Regions from separate parts of the Homo sapiens genome. Here regions 1, 3, 4, 5 and 6 are each linked to region 2. Evidence: promoter capture Hi-C in 16 types of primary human blood cells and fetal thymus (Javierre and others, 2016). All regions are on one chromosome and are shown on one strand. Each heading gives the region's core, a stretch centred on a gene start or on the middle of the fragment in contact. The rest is flanking DNA. Distances are from core to core; before and after follow the strand shown. Region 1 holds the start of TMEM95 (transmembrane protein 95). Region 2 holds the start of TP53 (tumor protein p53). Region 3 has its middle 19 kb from the start of ALOX15B. Region 4 overlaps NEURL4 (neuralized E3 ubiquitin protein ligase 4). Region 5 holds the start of SPEM1 (spermatid maturation 1). Region 6 holds the start of PLSCR3 (phospholipid scramblase 3).

Region 1 (2,856 bases), core at 93-2,592, 330 kb after region 2:
CTTTATCCCAAAACTCACTCCACCAGGAGGCTCAGAACACCCAGAAGCAGGAAAGCTCCGAAGATGGAGAGGAGCAGAATCTTGGCTTCCCAAAGATCCTGACTTCCTGCAGGGAACCCAGGAGGCAGTGAATGATTCTGGGACCCACACGCACCGACTTGGGAGCCCAAGGGCTCAGGGATCTGGGCAAGGTGGGGCGGGGCCAAGATGGGCGTGAGGACCTGGGAAGCAGCGCTTTCGGGGCCAGCAGGACACCTCCGTCCCCTTGCAGGTGGAGCAGTTGTACAGCGTGGTGCTGCCCCCTGCAGGAGACAGCAGAGGCAACGCTGGGGAGGGGAGGCCGGGCCTCCACCCTGCCTGGTACCCAGCTTCCTCCTGCAGCTGCCAGGCCCTCCTCTGACACCCTGCAGGCCCCAGGTCCTTGCTACCCCTTTCCTTTCCTACTCACGGCAGGCGGGGGGACAGAGAGCTGAAATGAAAGACAAGGAAGGGGTGGGGGTGTGAATGGATGAGCTGCTCACCACACATTCCTTTGGTTAAGACCCTAGGCTCCCCTTGAGGCCCATCCCGCATCGGTACCTTCCCTGGTGTACTCAGGGAGCTTGGTCTTTCGAAGCCAACTCCAATATGAAGGGAGTGAGGAGACAGCCTCTTTGATTTCTGGGGAGGCAGACAGCAGCTCCGTTTCCCTGGGCCTCGACGGGGCCAGTTCCCCCTCTCTTCACGCAGCCCCTCCCTGATCAGCCCTCCTGTCTCTACCCCTCCACCCTTCCCTGCCCACCCCAACCCCTGTCACCCGTCCCTCTCCTTGGTATCCTCCCAAGCCCCTAGGTCACTCTTTCCCCTTGACCTCACCCATGACCCTCAGGACTCTGTGAGTCTTCTCTGTGACTTTGTTCATGGACACCTCATCTGTGGAGATGGGCAAGGACCAGCGATTCCCTCATCAGCCCAGGTTCTGGGGTCTCTCCTGACTTTCCCAGATATGGAGCTCTCTCAGAGGGAAAGGCCAGCATGTCCAGAAAGGGCCACAGATGGAGGGCACAGCTGGAAGGTCACATGCCACCCTCTGGGGGTAGGGGGGTGAGTGCTTGCTGGGCCCATCCCTGGATGTCTGGTCCTACCTAAGGCAAAGGCCGAGAAGTCTGGGGAGGCCCCACATTCCTTCTGCCTGGCCTCCATCTGGCTGCAGAGCCGAGCCAGGCGGCCTGACAAGTCGTGGGCTGGGAGGCGACAGAAGACACAAGCCTGGGCGGCTGCCAGGAAAACCCCGCCTAGTGCCAGCCTCCACATGAGGACCACTGGGGGATGGGGCGGCGCTGCCCCAGCTGAGCCGAGGAATGCTCTGCAGCCCTGGCTCCAGCCCTTGCCTGGAGGTTCTAGAATGTTCCAGAACAATGAACAATGGCACTGCCCATCCTCAGCTGGGGTAAAGCTGGGGCTCAAGGAACTGGGGTCCAGAAGGCATCTCCAGCAGGCGATGGGCAGAGAAAGCAGGGCTTCTGTTGTGAGGGGACAGCACCCCCAACCTGGCCCTCAACAGCCTTCACAAGTTTGTGGTTCCAAAAGCAGTTTTATTTTTCTTCTTGTAAATCATGACCAGTGAGAAATAATGTGTGCCCCACCCCCCACCAGTGAAGAAGCTGTGCGTGAGTATCCCACCCGCTCTGGGACCCAGAAATCCCATCCCTTCCCATCTCCTCCCCCACTGTCCCAAACTCTTCGTCTCCTCTCTCTGCCCTGGGCGGCCTTGGGCCTTCCCCAGCTATCTCCTAGCAACAGGTCCATGGTTGCCTCAGCAACCAAGAGTTCCATACAGGCCTCAGAGGCCCAGCTAAGCCCAGTGACTTCTCTTACCTCTCACCAGGAAGATCCCAGTGACTCAAACCCCAACAGGCCCCTCCTGGCTACGTGGTGATGCATATACATGCGTGCACATAAACACACACACACACACACACACACACACCCTGTGATTAAACTACTAATTGTCAACCACCTCACAGGTATACCACAGACACACCCTGTGCCAGAAGAGTCGCTAGGCAACCCCAAACAGGCCTGGACATGCGGACATCACAGACACTGTAGTCAGCAACACAGATATGAACCAGGATGCCAGGGACCTATACATCAGTCAGCCACACGGGCTGATATGCACGCACACATGAAGAAAGGCCAGGACCCACAGATACTACCCTCTTCCCCCTGGCCAGCCCTGCCATCAGTATGGGATTCTTCCAGATGAGGGATGCTCCAGCCCCATTGCCATGGGGACTGTCCTAGCTCCCATACATCAACCTAGGGTGGGTTGTGGCCTTTCTGCCTCCCTCAGTAGATGGCTTGGAACATAGCAAAGAACTCCTCTTCCGATGTTCCAGAGTGTTCTGGCCTCTCATTGGTCAGGCCAGGCCAGGCCACCCAGCTTCAGGAGTAGAAGCCATGGTCCAAGAGACCGCATTGGGAAAATGCAAAGTCCTCCCTTTTCCCCAGACCTCAATATCCTTCCAGGGTTTTGCTAGGTCTAGTCTGGGTAAAGAGATGTTCCCCCCTTTTCCAAGCCCTTAAACACTGAGCTCCAAATCAAGGAGAGACTGGAGGTGCTCAGCCTTAGGCAAGAACAAGCTGAGAGAACCTTCCCTACCCCTCCCAGGGTCAGCACAGGTTGAGACCTTCTGGACCACTTGTGAGTCCTTGGTGGGCTCAGGTTTGGGAATTCCTGCCCACATCTGAGCTCCAGTCAGGTGCAGGAGAGTCCCGACTCTCATAGCTCCTGAAGCAGAGCTGGAAAGAGGCTTCAGGGGTGCTAGTACCCCATTCTCTCTCCTCCCCACAGTCAAACTGAGAACAGCATCC
Region 2 (3,028 bases), core at 267-2,766:
GTTCGCTTCTTCTTCAGAAAGGCTCCCGTTTGCTTCTTCTGCAGGAAGGCTTGTATTTTCAGAAAGTTCTTGCTCCTCGATTCGAGGACTCAACTCACTAGGGGAACCAAACTCTGTTTCCAGGGGAGTGGAGAGAGAAACTGGGTCCCCCTCCCGTAGCTCCTGGGACACAGCTGAGCCAGCCACAGGATCTGGGGACAACCGGGGCGGATCCCCCCTTTCGGGAGGCGGTGGCATCAGTTCAGAGTCCGCATTTTTATTCATCGGGGAAGCGTGGGGAGAAGGATGGGCTGGAGCTGGGTCCTGGTCTGAAGGACAGCAGTCCGGAGCTAACGGTTGAGTCTCCAAAGTCTTCATACTGCAGAGGAAGCACAGCGGAGATTAGCCTCAGCCAGGATGGCTTCGAAGTTCTCAGGGATCCGACGCAGAGCTAAAGAAACCCACCTGTGCTTCCCTCCTCTTCTGGGAGTAGGCAGAAGACTCCCGGGAGGAGAGGCGAACAGCGGACGCCAATTCTTTTGAAAGCACTGTGTTCCTTAGCACCGCGGGTCGCTACGGGCCTCTTGCTGTCGCGGGATTTCGGTCCACCTTCCGATTGGGCCGCCGCATCCCGGATCAGATTTCGCGGGCGACCCACGGAACCCGCGGAGCCGGGACGTGAAAGGTTAGAAGGTTTCCCGTTCCCATCAAGCCCTAGGGCTCCTCGTGGCTGCTGGGAGTTGTAGTCTGAACGCTTCTATCTTGGCGAGAAGCGCCTACGCTCCCCCTACCGAGTCCCGCGGTAATTCTTAAAGCACCTGCACCGCCCCCCCGCCGCCTGCAGAGGGCGCAGCAGGTCTTGCACCTCTTCTGCATCTCATTCTCCAGGCTTCAGACCTGTCTCCCTCATTCAAAAAATATTTATTATCGAGCTCTTACTTGCTACCCAGCACTGATATAGGCACTCAGGAATACAACAATGAATAAGATAGTAGAAAAATTCTATATCCTCATAAGGCTTACGTTTCCATGTACTGAAAGCAATGAACAAATAAATCTTATCAGAGTGATAAGGGTTGTGAAGGAGATTAAATAAGATGGTGTGATATAAAGTATCTGGGAGAAAACGTTAGGGTGTGATATTACGGAAAGCCTTCCTAAAAAATGACATTTTAACTGATGAGAAGAAAGGATCCAGCTGAGAGCAAACGCAAAAGCTTTCTTCCTTCCACCCTTCATATTTGACACAATGCAGGATTCCTCCAAAATGATTTCCACCAATTCTGCCCTCACAGCTCTGGCTTGCAGAATTTTCCACCCCAAAATGTTAGTATCTACGGCACCAGGTCGGCGAGAATCCTGACTCTGCACCCTCCTCCCCAACTCCATTTCCTTTGCTTCCTCCGGCAGGCGGATTACTTGCCCTTACTTGTCATGGCGACTGTCCAGCTTTGTGCCAGGAGCCTCGCAGGGGTTGATGGGATTGGGGTTTTCCCCTCCCATGTGCTCAAGACTGGCGCTAAAAGTTTTGAGCTTCTCAAAAGTCTAGAGCCACCGTCCAGGGAGCAGGTAGCTGCTGGGCTCCGGGGACACTTTGCGTTCGGGCTGGGAGCGTGCTTTCCACGACGGTGACACGCTTCCCTGGATTGGGTAAGCTCCTGACTGAACTTGATGAGTCCTCTCTGAGTCACGGGCTCTCGGCTCCGTGTATTTTCAGCTCGGGAAAATCGCTGGGGCTGGGGGTGGGGCAGTGGGGACTTAGCGAGTTTGGGGGTGAGTGGGATGGAAGCTTGGCTAGAGGGATCATCATAGGAGTTGCATTGTTGGGAGACCTGGGTGTAGATGATGGGGATGTTAGGACCATCCGAACTCAAAGTTGAACGCCTAGGCAGAGGAGTGGAGCTTTGGGGAACCTTGAGCCGGCCTAAAGCGTACTTCTTTGCACATCCACCCGGTGCTGGGCGTAGGGAATCCCTGAAATAAAAGATGCACAAAGCATTGAGGTCTGAGACTTTTGGATCTCGAAACATTGAGAACTCATAGCTGTATATTTTAGAGCCCATGGCATCCTAGTGAAAACTGGGGCTCCATTCCGAAATGATCATTTGGGGGTGATCCGGGGAGCCCAAGCTGCTAAGGTCCCACAACTTCCGGACCTTTGTCCTTCCTGGAGCGATCTTTCCAGGCAGCCCCCGGCTCCGCTAGATGGAGAAAATCCAATTGAAGGCTGTCAGTCGTGGAAGTGAGAAGTGCTAAACCAGGGGTTTGCCCGCCAGGCCGAGGAGGACCGTCGCAATCTGAGAGGCCCGGCAGCCCTGTTATTGTTTGGCTCCACATTTACATTTCTGCCTCTTGCAGCAGCATTTCCGGTTTCTTTTTGCCGGAGCAGCTCACTATTCACCCGATGAGAGGGGAGGAGAGAGAGAGAAAATGTCCTTTAGGCCGGTTCCTCTTACTTGGCAGAGGGAGGCTGCTATTCTCCGCCTGCATTTCTTTTTCTGGATTACTTAGTTATGGCCTTTGCAAAGGCAGGGGTATTTGTTTTGATGCAAACCTCAATCCCTCCCCTTCTTTGAATGGTGTGCCCCACCCCGCGGGTCGCCTGCAACCTAGGCGGACGCTACCATGGCGTGAGACAGGGAGGGAAAGAAGTGTGCAGAAGGCAAGCCCGGAGGTATTTTCAAGAATGAGTATATCTCATCTTCCCGGAGGAAAAAAAAAAAGAATGGGTACGTCTGAGAATCAAATTTTGAAAGAGTGCAATGATGGGTCGTTTGATAATTTGTCGGAAAAACAATCTACCTGTTATCTAGCTTTGGGCTAGGCCATTCCAGTTCCAGACGCAGGCTGAACGTCGTGAAGCGGAAGGGGCGGGCCCGCAGGCGTCCGTGTGGTCCTCCGTGCAGCCCTCCGGCCCGAGCCGGTTCTTCCTGGTAGGAGGCGGAACTCGAATTCATTTCTCCCGCTGCCCCATCTCTTAGCTCGCGGTTGTTTCATTCCGCAGTTTCTTCCCATGCACCTGCCGCGTACCGGCCACTTTGTGCCGTAC
Region 3 (2,968 bases), core at 226-2,725, 370 kb before region 2:
TTGTAGCACTTTGATAGACTTCAGATGCTGTGCCTACTCCAATCAAGCCCATAGAAGCCTTTTGTCGGGGCCACGCTTTTGGCCACTGATTTAGAGCTATAATTGAAATATTAGCACCTGTGTCTACCAGTCCTTCAAACTGTTTTCCCTGAATCATTGTGCACACAGGTCTGTTTTTAGAAGCTTGATTTACTCAATAGGCTGCTTTTCCTTCACTGTCAGTACTGCCAAAACCACTTTCTCTTTTTACTGTACTTTTTTCTACTATTACATAAGGTAATAACAACAGCTGAGCAATTCTATCTCCTGGGTTTGCACTCCAAGGAATACTGGAACTAATAACCAATTGAATTTCTCCCACAAAATCTGAATCAATCAGCCCAGTATGAATCTGAACTCCTTTTAAGTTTAGACTAGATGTTCCTAAAACAAGTCCAACTGTCCATCAGGTAAAGGGCCAAATACTCCAGTGGGGACTTTTTGAGGGGATTTCCCTGGAAGCAGAGAGATAGCTTTTGGGAAACATAAATCTAAGCCTGTACTCCCTGCTGTAGCTGGCGCCAATTGTGTTACTGTGGTGGTTGGGCAAGAGACAATGATGGTGGTTGGACTAGAGGCAATGACCGACTGAGGGACCAACTGCTGGAGTGAGAATGCCCCCGTTTGGAGCGGGGCCTGAGGCTGGCCCCTCTTCCTGTTTCCCGACTGCGGTTGTAACGGTTGGCCATTTTTGTCAAATTTGAAGTGACACTGATTAGCCCAATGTTTACCCTTCTGGCACCTGGGACATAAGCCAGGTGGTTCTTTTATTTGATTATATCTTGCCTGTTTGTTCGATTTGTTCTTACGTTCCTTTTTTGTGTGTCCAAATTGCCCACAATTGTAACAATTGCCTGAAAAGTTTTTAATTGGACCTCCCACTTTTAACTCTGTCGTGGCTTGAACCATTATCATAGCCTTATGCATGATTCCACCAACTCCATTACATGCCCTGATATATTCATTAATCACATCAACTCCCACCGGAACCTTTCCTTTCACTGGGTGAATAGCTGACTGGCATTCAGGGTTAGTATTCTCACAAGCCAATAATTCTACAATCACCTTCCTGGCACTTTCTTTCTTTCTTTCTTTTTTTTTTTTTTTTTTTGAGGCGGAGTTTCGCTCTTGTTACCCAGGCTGGAGTGCAGTGGCGTGATCTCGGCTCACCGCAACCTCCGCCTCCTGGGTTCAAGCAATTCTCCTGCCTCAGCCTCCTGAGTAGCTGGGATTACAGACATGTGCCATCACGCCCGGCTAATTTTTATATTTTTAGTAGAGACGGGGTTTCTCCATGTTGGTCAGGCTGGTCTCCAACTCCCGACCTCAGGTGATCCGCCCACCTCGGCCTCCCAAAGTGCTGGGATTACAGGCATGAGCCACCGCACCCGGCCTTCCTGGCACTTTCATCAGTGAGAGCCTTCTGTGCTGCGTCTTGAAGGCGAGCAATGAAATCAGGATATGGTTCCTTTGAGCCTTGTCTAATAGAATTAAAAGACTGATAAGTAGTTCCCAGATCCTGAATTTTCTCCCATGCCCTCAAACAGCAATTGCGAATTTGTTCAATGGCATCATCTCGAAGTCCTGATGGTTGTTTACAGTTCCCCATTGACCCCCTATTCCTAGAAGTTGTTCAAATGTAATGGCAATAGCAGGATTAGCAGCACGGTTTTTTCGATCTTGATTTTGAGCCTCGTCGGTCCACCAAGTCTTAAACTGAAGAAATTGGGAGGGCGAAAGTGTAACTTTCGTTAAAATCTCCCAATCACACGGAGTCAATAGCTTATTCTGAGCCACAGATTGCAATAGCGATCGGATGAAAGGCGAATTGGGACCATACTGACCAACAGCTGCTTTAAGATCTTTGAGCAGCTTAAAAGAAAATGGTTCCCATACCGCTTGATGGGCTCCACCTTGCTGTCGTGGGGGTTGCAAAACTACTGCAAACTGCCAGGCATCAAGATCTCCGGCTAATCTAGCCTGCCGAATAGTAAACTGTAATGGCGATTCATTAACATTAGATGGCAGTGCAGCCTTATGTTGTACTGGTGCTACACCATGCGCTCGTGGTTCCTGAGGCCACAATTCATTCATTCGTGAAACAGGGCAAATTTGAGATTCAGACCTCCAAGGCTCCAAGCTACATTGCTTTATTGGAGGCGGCCACTCCGGATGATCCCAATGAGGAGCCGACTGCTCCTCAAGGCCCTTCTTTGTTTTAAACATCTTGGCATATATGGCTTCTCTATTTTAGGAGCAGCTGAAGGTCCCACGTGCTCCTCAAAAGAAATTAACTCATCTCCAGGTTTGTCTGTATTTTCCTCAAAATCTTCTTCACTATCCTCTCCTCCTTCAGCAGCATCACCACCTTCCTCTGCAGAAATTCTTTCTGCTGGAGGATAAGCCTCATTTTCCGATTGAAACGGTTCCGAGGCTGCTTTAACTATAGCCCAGTTTGACCAGGCTGTTAGGGGGATAAATTTTCCTTCCTTACAAACTTGTTTTAAGGCAATTCCCACCTGTTCCCAATCTTTGAAGTCCATGGTACCATGTTCAGGAAACCAAGGACGATATTGCTCTACTGTTGGAAACAGAGTAATCAAATTTTCTGTGCTAGCCTTAATTCCTGCCCTCTTTAAGAGGAGCTTAATAAAATGTAAATATGCAGAATGTTTACTTTTGGATTGTCCCATGGTGTCCCTGGAATGCTCCGAGTGCACAAGCTTACCGCAAGGCCGACCACACGTTCTCGGGAGTTCCTGGACAGACCGTTCTTCACAACGACCACGCTCAGGTGTAACTTCACCTGGGTTCAAGGAGACCGTGTTGGGTGCCAAAGATGTAGGGGAACCTGCCTGATACACCACCCGCAGGCTCTCCCCTTCCCGGTGGAGACGAGGGAATGAGAAAAGAAATAAAGACAAAGACA
Region 4 (2,944 bases), core at 103-2,602, 360 kb after region 2:
TGCCACAGGCCTGCCCCCTCGTGTCTGGGCCGTCGTGGACCTTTATGGCAAGTGCACCCAGATCACCGTGCTACCCCCTGAGCCAGGCTTCAGCCCCCCTACTCCCATCCCCACACCTCCCCTCGAGCCCTTGGCCCCCACTGAAGACTCTGCCTTGGCTGAACAGGGGACCTCTGCAGATGAAGGTGAGAACACAGCTAGGGCAGTGGTGGTGGGGTGGGGACGGAATGGGGGAAATAGAGTGACAAGACAGGCTGGGTGTGGGCAGGGCCACCCTGATCCCCAAGTCTGTTGAATGGGAGAGCAGGAGCTAGAGGATGGGGGGTTCTCCTGGCTATGGGCCGTGAAGCAGGGACTGAACCCTTATTCCCCTCCCATCCCACCTGGTCCCCAGCCTTCATGGTGTCCCCAGCGCAGGCCCGGCCGGAGACGTTTCCTAACAGCCTTGAGTCGCATAATGGTGAGGGCTTTGGGGAGGCCCTGGGAAGGGGAGTGGGAAGTGAGGTGGACAAGGGAGGGCCCTCAGGAGAAGGGGTAGGGAGAGAGGCACCAGGTCTGGGGGTGTAGAGCCTCATCCCAACTTCCGAGCTTCCTTCTTCCATCCTGCTGCTATAGACTTTGCCAACATGGAGCTGTCTGAGGTGGTGAGCAACACCATCCTGTCTGCCTACAATGGAGGGCTCCTGAATGTGAACCTGAGCTCCCCACCGGCAGGGGAAGGCCTGGGATCTAGCGGTGCTGCCACCTCGCCCATTCTCACTTCCAACGATGCCCTGCTCTTTCATGAAAAGTGCGGGACCCTCATCAAACTCAGCAACAATAATAAGACGGCTGAGCGCCGGCGGCCCCTGGATGAATTCAACAATGGGGTTGTCATGACCAATCGCCCCCTTCGGGACAATGAGATGTTTGAGGTGTGCAAAGTCCTGTGGTCTGGTTGGCGCCTTATCCCTGGGAGCTAAAGATGGGGATTGACCCTTGGTGCTAGGAGGGTGGGCCCTGGGGAAGAACCAAGGGCTGAAGGTCCCTTTCTGCATTTACATTCCCTGCTTCTCCCTTCTGTCCCTCAATGCCAGATCCGTATCGACAAGCTTGTTGATAAGTGGTCAGGCTCCATTGAGATTGGGGTCACCACCCACAACCCCAACAGTTTGGAGTACCCAGCCACCATGACCAACCTCCAGTCAGGTACCAGCCCCGGGCAGGGGCGGGGGTGCAGGCCTGGTGTTGCTGAGGGGAAGGAAGCCCCGTACCCGAACCCAAGTGTCCACTATCACCCAGGCACCATCATGATGAGCGGCTGTGGAATCCTGACCAATGGCAAGGGCACCCGCCGGGAGTACTGCGAATTCAGTCTGGATGAGTTGCAGGTGAGGGTGGGGCACAGATCCCTGGGCCGCTTTCAGCAGAGCCACAGGTACTCTGTGTCCCTGCCAGGGCACCAAGCAGGGTCTCCTATGTGACCTAGAGGCAGTCCCTGTATCTTCCACCTAAAGGTTCCTTCCTAGAAGCCTGAGTTGCCCAAGAGTTCAGCACTCAGATTTTGGAGTCAGATGGTTGAATTCCTCTTACTGTTTTCCCATTTGTAGTAGCGAACCGGGGCAAGAAGCTTATCCTCTTTGATTGCTCCCCCACCTCCTGCAATCTCTAAAATGAGCCTACGAGTAGTACTTATTCCATAGGCTGAGACTTGTAGAAGCTAATGTCTGTGAGGTGGTTTAACTCAGTGCCTGACTCACGTGGAGCATTGACGAAATGTGGAAATTGTCATGTCTGGAAAACAAGGACCCAGGACCTGTCCTCCAGGGTGGTCTGAGACTCTCACGAATACCTTCTGGAGTTGTTCCTGTGTGGAGTGGGGTGCTGAGCAGGCCTCAGGACTCCTCTAAACTGTTTGTCTTCTTTGATTAGGAGGGTGACCACATTGGCCTCACAAGGAAGTCCAACTCTGCCCTACACTTCTTCATTAATGGTATCGATCAGGGTAAGGGCCGCCCAGAGAGAGCCTCTGGGCCGGGGCTTTCGGTGGGGCTGGGACTGGGGGCTGTACCTCATCCTCCTGCTTCTCTTTGGTGCTTGGCCTCCCTGTGTTTGACTTTCTCCCCTCATTCTCCCTGTCCACTCCCACACCCCCGTACCTTCCTGCCACAGGAGTGGCAACCCCCTTGACGCCCCCAGTGGTGTATGGTGTGGTGGACTTGTACGGGATGGCAGTGAAGGTGACCATCGTCCACAATAACAACCACAGTGACCGTCTCCGCCGAAACAACGCCATCCTGCGGGCGCTGTCCCCCGAGGGTGCTCTCCGCCGTGCTGCCCCTGCCGCCCAGGCAGAACCTGAGCGCCTGCTCTTCCACCCCAACTGTGGGCAGAAGGCAGCCATCACCCACGAGGGACGCACTGCCCTGAGGCCCCAGTATGGCCCATGGGGTGGGGAGAAGCCTGAAGAAGGGATTCTAATGGGGGGGGGGGGGCGGGGCAAGGAAGTGGAAGGCAGAGGGAGCCTGGCGGGGGCAGCTTCCTGGAGGTTGAGCTTTAGTTCTTTGGCTTGGGGCAGTGAGTGTTGGCAGGCATTGCTGGGCTAAGCCTTGGCACATTGAGAGCGTGTGTTGGGGATCTGACTCTCCACTTGCTGTGCCCTCAGTGCCACCGATGACTTCAATCACGGCGTGGTGCTGAGCAGCAGAGCCCTGCGGGATGGAGAGGTGTTCCAGGTGCGCATCGACAAGATGGTGGACAAATGGGCTGGCTCCATTGAAATTGGTGTCACCACCCACAACCCTGCCTACCTCCAGTTGCCCTCCACCATGACCAACTTGCGCTCTGGTGAGCTCCCAGGAAGGGCAGGGACAGGATAGGGTTTTGGGGGGAAGCTATCCCCAAAGCCCTGGCACTTGTTCTGCAGCTCCTTTTTCACTTGTCACTCTTGTGACCACTCATTCAG
Region 5 (3,063 bases), core at 188-2,687, 270 kb after region 2:
TGTGGGGCAAAAGGTTAATGAGGGTCCTCAGGGCTCAGGGCCCTGTGGCTAGGGAGAGCATTCTCTTCACAGCCACAGCTTCTAGGTGCTGTGTGGGCCCTGGCACCCCAGCACCACCACAGATCACCTCCTCTCTCCTTTTTATTTTTTTCCAGTCACCTCCCAGTTAGGGAACGGTACACCCAATTCTTGCTTGTCTCCTCGGCAGTGCTGGATCCAGAGGCTAGGGGGTAGCAGCCGGACAGGGCCTCCACCTCCCGGGTCAGTTCCCGAAGCCGCCGTCTCATGTCCCGGGCATCATACACTATTCGGCCTGAGGAGCGGTGCCGGGAAAATTCAGGGATGACTGCTGGGCCCAGGGTGGGAGCTGGGACAGGCTGGTACTGAGCCGCCTCTGCCTCTGGCACCGCCCCCTCCCCACCGTTCTTGTGGCTAGGAGCCTCAGGGCTGGGAGGTGGGGGGTTCACAGGATACACATAGGCCCTTAGGCCCAGCTCGGACCATATGCCTGTTTTGAGGGGCCTTTCCTCTACGGTAGGCTGGAAGCGGATGGTCTGGGGAGGGGACTCTGGGGCATCCTGAGACCAGGGAACCCAGGTCCCCTGAGTGTGTTGGAAGCCTTCCCAGTCCTCAGGGACATCCCAGTGGTAGGAGCAGATGGCTGGGTACTGATGAGGCTTCTCGTCATCAGTGTCAGGAGCCCAAGCTACTGGGCAGTGAGCACAGCGTGTGGGAGAGCCTCGACGGCGATGGCGGTGAGCTGGGGGCGGGGACACAGTCATCATCACAGGGTCCATGGTGCACCGAAGATGGACTGCAGGAGAACTCTGCTTCTTAGGGGGCTGGGTCTGCTTTCTGAGTAATGATGACTTGGGAGCTTCTGTGGATGGGGGAGAGGTGAGACTAGTGGGGAGGCCAGCTCCTACAGGCATGGAGAGGCAGGGCCCAGGAAGGGCAGCCACACAGCTATGTTGTCTGAGAGGGGCGAGCAAGAAGGGAAGGGGCTAATTTAGGGCTGAGGCTAGAGCACTTGGTTTCTGCCCCTCCTATGTCCCAGCCCCCAGACCTCTTACCTTTCTCACAAATGGTATCATGGAACACTTGGTATAAGACACCACGGAATCGGCTCCAGAGCTAGGTGGGGGAAGACACAGTGATCCCAGGTAGGCCCTGGCCGGCAGGCCTGCCCCCCACTATCCCACCAGCTCCCTCCCATCTGGCCCCACCCTGACCAGGGTCACTATATTGATGCTAATGTTAATGCAGATGATGAGGCCCAGCAGCAACAGGACAGAGTTGCCCAGGTCCTGGCAGCTGTTGCTGTTGCAGTTGTGATACGAGGCCCACTCGGGCCTCGGCCGCTCAACCATGGCCATGGGGTCCCTAGGACCACCGGGGCCCTTACGCCCCCAGCCCACCGTGCCGACAGTGTCCACTGACTGCCTGCCTGTCCCTGAGGGTCTTGGGAGTGAACGGGTCACAATGGTGCCAGGCCACTCCCTTCCAGTGTGCCAAGGGGCTACCCTGAGTCCTGGACCCGTGGCTGACCCTCTCGCCTGAGTCCAGGCCTTGGCAGAGGCCATGCCTCTCACCTCACATACCTCTGCTGAGCTAGCTGCCTACACCAGCCCACTGGGCCTCTGGCCTGTTTGACATCTGCCCCCATCAGCCTTTGTCCTTCCATTATAGAACGACACCAGGCTCCAGTCTCGGCATAGACACGGGTCCTGACATTCATTTGCCAAACAGACCCATTACCATGGCAACCAGACCCCAGCACACACTCCCCCTTCCTCTCAGACCTCAGAGCTGGTCACTGAAAAGACCCCTCCTCCCTCGTCACTTCCCCAGGGCTTGTTTCTTTAGAGACCGCCCTCCCCACAACAGAGCAGGCACAACCAACAGTTAAACTTTTATATTTACAATATTCTCTTCATCTTTTGCCAGGTTTAAAAATGTGTACAGAGCCGCAAAGGGTTGGGGTAGGGATAAGGGATTGTCGGGATTGTTTTGGGGAGAGGAGCTGGGCATTGGAGTCCGTGGCTGAATCATGGGGTCCCCCAGCCCCCCTCCCATGCCCCAATTCTGAGGGCATCTGTCTACAGGGTTCAGGGCCCAGGTCTCTAGCATTTGGAGGGCATGGCTGTTTGGAGAGGAGCTAGACCAGGCAGGGGAAAGGATCAGAAAATAACTAATTTTCCATGGATGGAGGTAGGAAGAGAAGGGACAGTCAAGAGGCAAAGTTCTGGGGACTCAAGACCAGGGATTCTGGATTTGGGTGTCAGTGGAAGACAGCACCCCAGCCCCTATTCAAGTTTGGCACTAACACCCCACAAAATGCCAGCAGATGAGGACTCTCCCCTCGTCCACTGTGTCCCTTAAGCCCTTCCAGACATCATTCTTTTCCCAAATGCCCAAGCCCAAGGCCCTCCGGGGAGTCACCTCACACATTTCAAATTATTCCTGCTGGTGTCTGCCCAAGCCCTGTCCCCACTGCCCCCTCCATCTGTTCCCCAGCACCGCTGACCTCATTCTCCCAACCTGTCCGGTGAGACCTTTCTCCCCACTGCCTCCCTCCACCATTCAAGGCTCCTTTCTTTCAGACAAGGAGGGGGCGTGGGTCAGAGGAGGGTGGTCAGCTGAGGAGAAGGCTGGTCTGACACTGAGATGGGGACAGCTTCAAAGAGGGGGACGGAGATGAAGGGGAACGGAGAACTGAGGCAGGGTGGGGGAGACATGGTGAGGAGAAGGGGCACAGGCGGGAGCCCCCTCACCTGCCACATCCCTCGCCCTGTATCCTGCTTGCCCTTAGTTTCCCCTGCCCTGCCTGGGACTGGGAAATTCTTGGCACATTTTGGGAGTCTTTCCGCTCAAATCCACCTACCCAGTTTGGCACGGATGAGCAATGCTCTGAGGCCTGGGGAAAAGGCTGTCCTCGGACCACAATGAGGGCTTTGGTCAAACATGCGTGGCCTCTGCGGGGGGCACGTTGCCACACCCCCTCCCCCCAACTCGGGAGCAAGGGCCGGGCCTCCCTCGGGGTTTGTTCACCCTCCTCAGCTC
Region 6 (3,103 bases), core at 98-2,597, 290 kb after region 2:
CCTCCCGAGTAGCTGGGACTACAAGCGCCCGCCACCACACCTGGCTAATTTTTTTGTATTTTAGTAGAGACGGGGTTTCACCATATTGGCCAGGATGGTCTCCATCTCCTGACCTCATGATTCGCCTGCCTCGGCCTCCCAAAGTGCTGGGATTACAGGCGTGAGCCACCGTGCCCGGCCTAACTATCGCCTTATTGGTGATGCCTTCGCCTTATTGGTGATGTCTAAATAAATATTTATTTATTTATTTATTTATTTTGAGATGGAGTCTCGCTCTGTTGCCCAGGCTGGAGTGCAATGGCGTAATCTCGGCTCACTGCAACCTCTGCCTCCCGGGTTCAAGAGTTTCTCCTACCTCAGCCTCCTGCATAGCTGGGACTACAGGCGCCCGCCACCACACCCGGCTAATTTTTGTATTTTTAGTAGAGATGGGTTTTTGCCATGTTGGCCAGGCTGGTCTCAAACTCCTGACCTCAGGTGATCCGCCCACCTCGGCCTCCCAAAGTGCTGGAATTACAGGCGTGAGCCACCGCGCCCCGCCACGATCTTTCTAAAACACACATTTGACCTTCTTTGTTCTAAAAATGTCTCGGTGGACTCCTCGCTGCTCGTGGGGCCAAATCGCAGCTTCCACACAACCCGCCCTGTATGTGGACTGCACTCCGTTTCTAAACTCATCTCTTGCGCCACTCAGCCAGTGGCCCCCAAGGCAGGACTGGTCCTGGCTCAGGATCCAGTCGAAGACACTCATCTCGGGGGTCTTTTCTGACCGCGCTTCCTCCTCTGGCCCTCTAGGCGGCCTGAGCACGCTCACTGACACCGTTTGGCGGCCTGTCACCCGCGTGGCTGGGGCACCTGCAGAAACTGCTGTCGCTGCGAGGTGCCCGTGTGGGTCACCGCTGTGCCAGGGAGAGAAGACGGCGAGGTCGCCCCTGGGAGGCAGAAGGCGAGCCAGGAGCCAGTCCTGGAAGCCAATGAGTGAGTGTGAAGGGTGTTCCGCTGCGTCAGCGAGGCCCGACTGCCCTTGGGAGGAGGAGCCCAGGGGCCAGCGCGGCCCGGGCCGCCCTCGCCTCCCACCCAGGGCGCTGAGCACGCACGCCGCCGGCCTGGCGGCGTTCGCGGGGCCCGGGACCAGCCGCCGCCTTCTCCAGGCGCTCCTACTCTCTGGGCATCTGCAGTCCGAGCGGAAGGGGCGGGAACGTCGGCGACGCCGAGGAGCAAAGCCCACGATCGGCTTCCCGGGGCAGCGGACGGCTGCCTTCCTCCCGGCGCAAACGCACCGCCCAGGAGGGGGCGGGCTCGGCGGGTCGGGGGGCGGGGCCGGGGTCCGAGCTCGGGCCCGCCTCCGCCTCCGCCAGCTCCTGTGAGCTGCCGAGTGCTAGGCACCCGGGCTCTTCTGGGGGCTCCAGGTGAGCGGGGGCACAGAGGGGTCAGGGAGACCGCCCTTGGGGTGGGGCTGTCGGTCTGACCGCGGGTCCATCTGTCCTGCCGTCGGCCCACAGCCTCCTCCGCAGGATGGGAGAACAAAGGGAGGGGGCGGTTCTGGGGCCCCCGAGGGAATCCAGGGTCCCAGGTACCCGGTCCCGCCCACTGACACTTGGGTTTCTCCCCGAGTCAGAGGCGCCGCCCAAGAGACCCTGGGCCGGCGCCGGGCGCAGCTGCCTCTCCGTCTTTGTGTCTGTCTCTGTGTCTGTCTGGCTATCTCCGAGTTTGCCTCCGCTTCCAGAACTAAGCCACCCAGACACCATCATCTCGAAAACCCCAGCCCTTCTCCCATGGCAGGTAAGTGCGCGCAAGTCTGGGGGTCTCCGTTATCCCCCCCACGGACTTGGGAGCCGGGTTTGAACACATCCTCCCGGAATGTGCTCGGACTGGCTGGGTGGGGCCCCTCCCTTCCTTCCGGGGAACCTCCACCCTGCTCCCCTGCCCCATCTTTCTCTGCCTCTTGCCACCACGTTTCCCCCGAAGCCTCGCGGCCCATGGGCTGAGGAATAAGGGGATGAGGCCTTGAGTCCCTTTCTAATCTATCCTGCTCCCACCGCTTTACAGGCTACTTGCCCCCCAAAGGCTACGCCCCTTCGCCCCCACCTCCCTACCCTGTCACCCCTGGGTACCCGGAGCCGGCGCTACATCCTGGGCCCGGGCAGGCGCCAGTGCCCGCCCAGGTACCTGCCCCAGCTCCCGGCTTCGCCCTCTTCCCCTCGCCTGGCCCCGTGGCCTTGGGGTCTGCTGCCCCCTTCTTGCCACTGCCAGGGGTGCCTTCTGGCCTCGAATTCCTGGTGCAGGTGAGTGGGAAGGAGGGAGGGAGGATGACTGGGAGGGGACTTGGGCGTCCAGATGGGCCAGCTGATGTGCGCGCCGCCCCTCTCTTTCCAGATTGATCAGATTTTGATTCACCAGAAGGCTGAGCGAGTGGAAAGTAAGTAGAAGGAGTGGGAGGTTGGACCTCATGATGGTGGCCCGGATGGTGGGCTCCTGGGCGCGCGAGGCTCTACGAGTCTCCCCGTGTCACCTCGGGCAGCGTTCCTAGGCTGGGAGACCTGTAATCGGTATGAACTGCGCTCTGGGGCCGGGCAGCCCCTGGGTCAGGCGGCCGAGGAGAGCAACTGCTGCGCCCGTCTGTGCTGTGGCGCCCGCCGGCCGCTGCGTGTCCGCCTGGCCGACCCCGGGGACCGTGAGGTGCTGCGTTTGCTCCGCCCGCTGCACTGTGGCTGCAGCTGCTGCCCCTGTGGCCTCCAGGAGGTGGGCGGAGGGAGGGGGCCGGGAGGGCGGGCCTTGGTGGGGCGGGACAATGATGAGGTCCACCTGAGATGAGGCCTGGATCAGGTGGGAGTGGGCAGGTGGGGATGGGAGGTTTAGTGAGGGCCAAATAGACAGATGATAGAGCTGGGACCCCTGCCTCCGCAGTGACCCTGTCTGCTTCCCACTCCCAGATGGAAGTACAGGCTCCACCAGGCACCACCATTGGCCACGTGCTACAGACCTGGCATCCCTTCCTCCCCAAGTTCTCCATCCAGGATGCCGATCGCCAGACAGTCTTGCGAGTGGTGGGGCCCTGCTGGACCTGTGGCTGTGGCACAGACACCAACTTTGAGGTATCAGG

The links. Contacts are between HindIII fragments. The CHiCAGO score rates a contact against its expected background, and 5 or more counts as called.
Region 1: the fragment with the promoter of TMEM95 here is called in contact with the fragment with the promoter of TP53 in region 2 in 2 of 17 cell types (naive CD8 T cells and total CD4 T cells); the score reaches 5.9 in naive CD8 T cells.
Region 3: a fragment that was not itself captured here is called in contact with the fragment with the promoter of TP53 in region 2 in 4 of 17 cell types (fetal thymus, naive CD4 T cells, megakaryocytes and 1 more); the score reaches 7.0 in fetal thymus.
Region 4: a fragment that was not itself captured here is called in contact with the fragment with the promoter of TP53 in region 2 in 4 of 17 cell types (fetal thymus, naive CD4 T cells, neutrophils and 1 more); the score reaches 9.4 in fetal thymus.
Region 5: a contact is called between the fragment with the promoter of SPEM1 here and the fragment with the promoter of TP53 in region 2, in 1 of 17 cell types (naive CD4 T cells). The highest score is 5.3, in naive CD4 T cells.
Region 6: a contact is called between a fragment that was not itself captured here and the fragment with the promoter of TP53 in region 2, in 2 of 17 cell types (fetal thymus and naive CD4 T cells). The highest score is 5.8, in fetal thymus.

Annotation. Positions count from the first base shown.
Region 1 is chr17:7,353,642-7,356,497 of GRCh38, reverse strand. TMEM95 (transmembrane protein 95) reads right to left here and starts at 1,342. Exons shown (of 7, transcript NM_001320436.2): 1 at 1,125-1,342; 2 at 856-912; 3 at 580-660; 4 at 449-469; 5 at 222-302; 6 at 19-106. The coding sequence starts at 1,293. It overlaps KCTD11 (potassium channel tetramerization domain containing 11), which reads right to left. Exons shown (of 1, transcript NM_001363642.1): 1 at 1,554-2,856. RefSeq lists enhancers at 748-1,274, 1,275-1,801. The HindIII fragment of the contact is 23,288 bases long and covers 1-2,856 here.
Region 2 is chr17:7,685,978-7,689,005 of GRCh38, reverse strand. It overlaps TP53 (tumor protein p53), which reads left to right and starts at 1,516. Exons shown (of 11, transcript NM_000546.6): 1 at 1,516-1,629. WRAP53 (WD repeat containing antisense to TP53) reads right to left here and starts at 529. Exons shown (of 11, transcript NM_001143992.2): 1 at 445-529; 2 at 1-358. The coding sequence starts at 357. RefSeq lists enhancers at 578-627, 1,426-2,625, 2,586-2,635, 2,099-2,646, 2,666-2,795. The HindIII fragment of the contact is 572 bases long and covers 1,199-1,770 here.
Region 3 is chr17:8,056,948-8,059,915 of GRCh38, reverse strand. No RefSeq gene overlaps it. Among named protein-coding and RNA genes, the nearest start is that of ALOX15B, 19 kb to the right of the region's middle. RefSeq lists enhancers at 2,169-2,238, 1,722-2,239. The HindIII fragment of the contact is 2,579 bases long and covers 186-2,764 here.
Region 4 is chr17:7,324,681-7,327,624 of GRCh38, reverse strand. It overlaps NEURL4 (neuralized E3 ubiquitin protein ligase 4), which reads left to right. Exons shown (of 29, transcript NM_032442.3): 2 at 1-185; 3 at 395-460; 4 at 616-914; 5 at 1,077-1,188; 6 at 1,282-1,370; 7 at 1,912-1,984; 8 at 2,152-2,416; 9 at 2,645-2,826. Among named protein-coding and RNA genes, the nearest start is that of NEURL4, 3.2 kb to the left of the region's middle. The HindIII fragment of the contact is 518 bases long and covers 1,094-1,611 here.
Region 5 is chr17:7,418,698-7,421,760 of GRCh38, reverse strand. SPEM1 (spermatid maturation 1) reads right to left here and starts at 1,437. Exons shown (of 3, transcript NM_199339.3): 1 at 1,233-1,437; 2 at 1,074-1,134; 3 at 129-880. The coding sequence starts at 1,376. The coding sequence ends at 156. It overlaps NLGN2 (neuroligin 2), which reads right to left. Exons shown (of 7, transcript NM_020795.4): 7 at 1,901-3,063. RefSeq lists an enhancer at 1,434-1,953. The HindIII fragment of the contact is 12,172 bases long and covers 1-3,063 here.
Region 6 is chr17:7,392,783-7,395,885 of GRCh38, reverse strand. PLSCR3 (phospholipid scramblase 3) reads left to right here and starts at 1,361. Exons shown (of 8, transcript NM_020360.4): 1 at 1,361-1,409; 2 at 1,619-1,782; 3 at 2,050-2,285; 4 at 2,377-2,419; 5 at 2,522-2,742; 6 at 2,934-3,095. The coding sequence starts at 1,776. It overlaps TMEM256-PLSCR3 (TMEM256-PLSCR3 readthrough (NMD candidate)), which reads left to right. Exons shown (of 10, transcript NR_037719.1): 3 at 796-978; 4 at 1,619-1,782; 5 at 2,050-2,285; 6 at 2,377-2,419; 7 at 2,522-2,742; 8 at 2,934-3,095. RefSeq lists a silencer at 984-1,473. The HindIII fragment of the contact is 7,925 bases long and covers 1-3,103 here.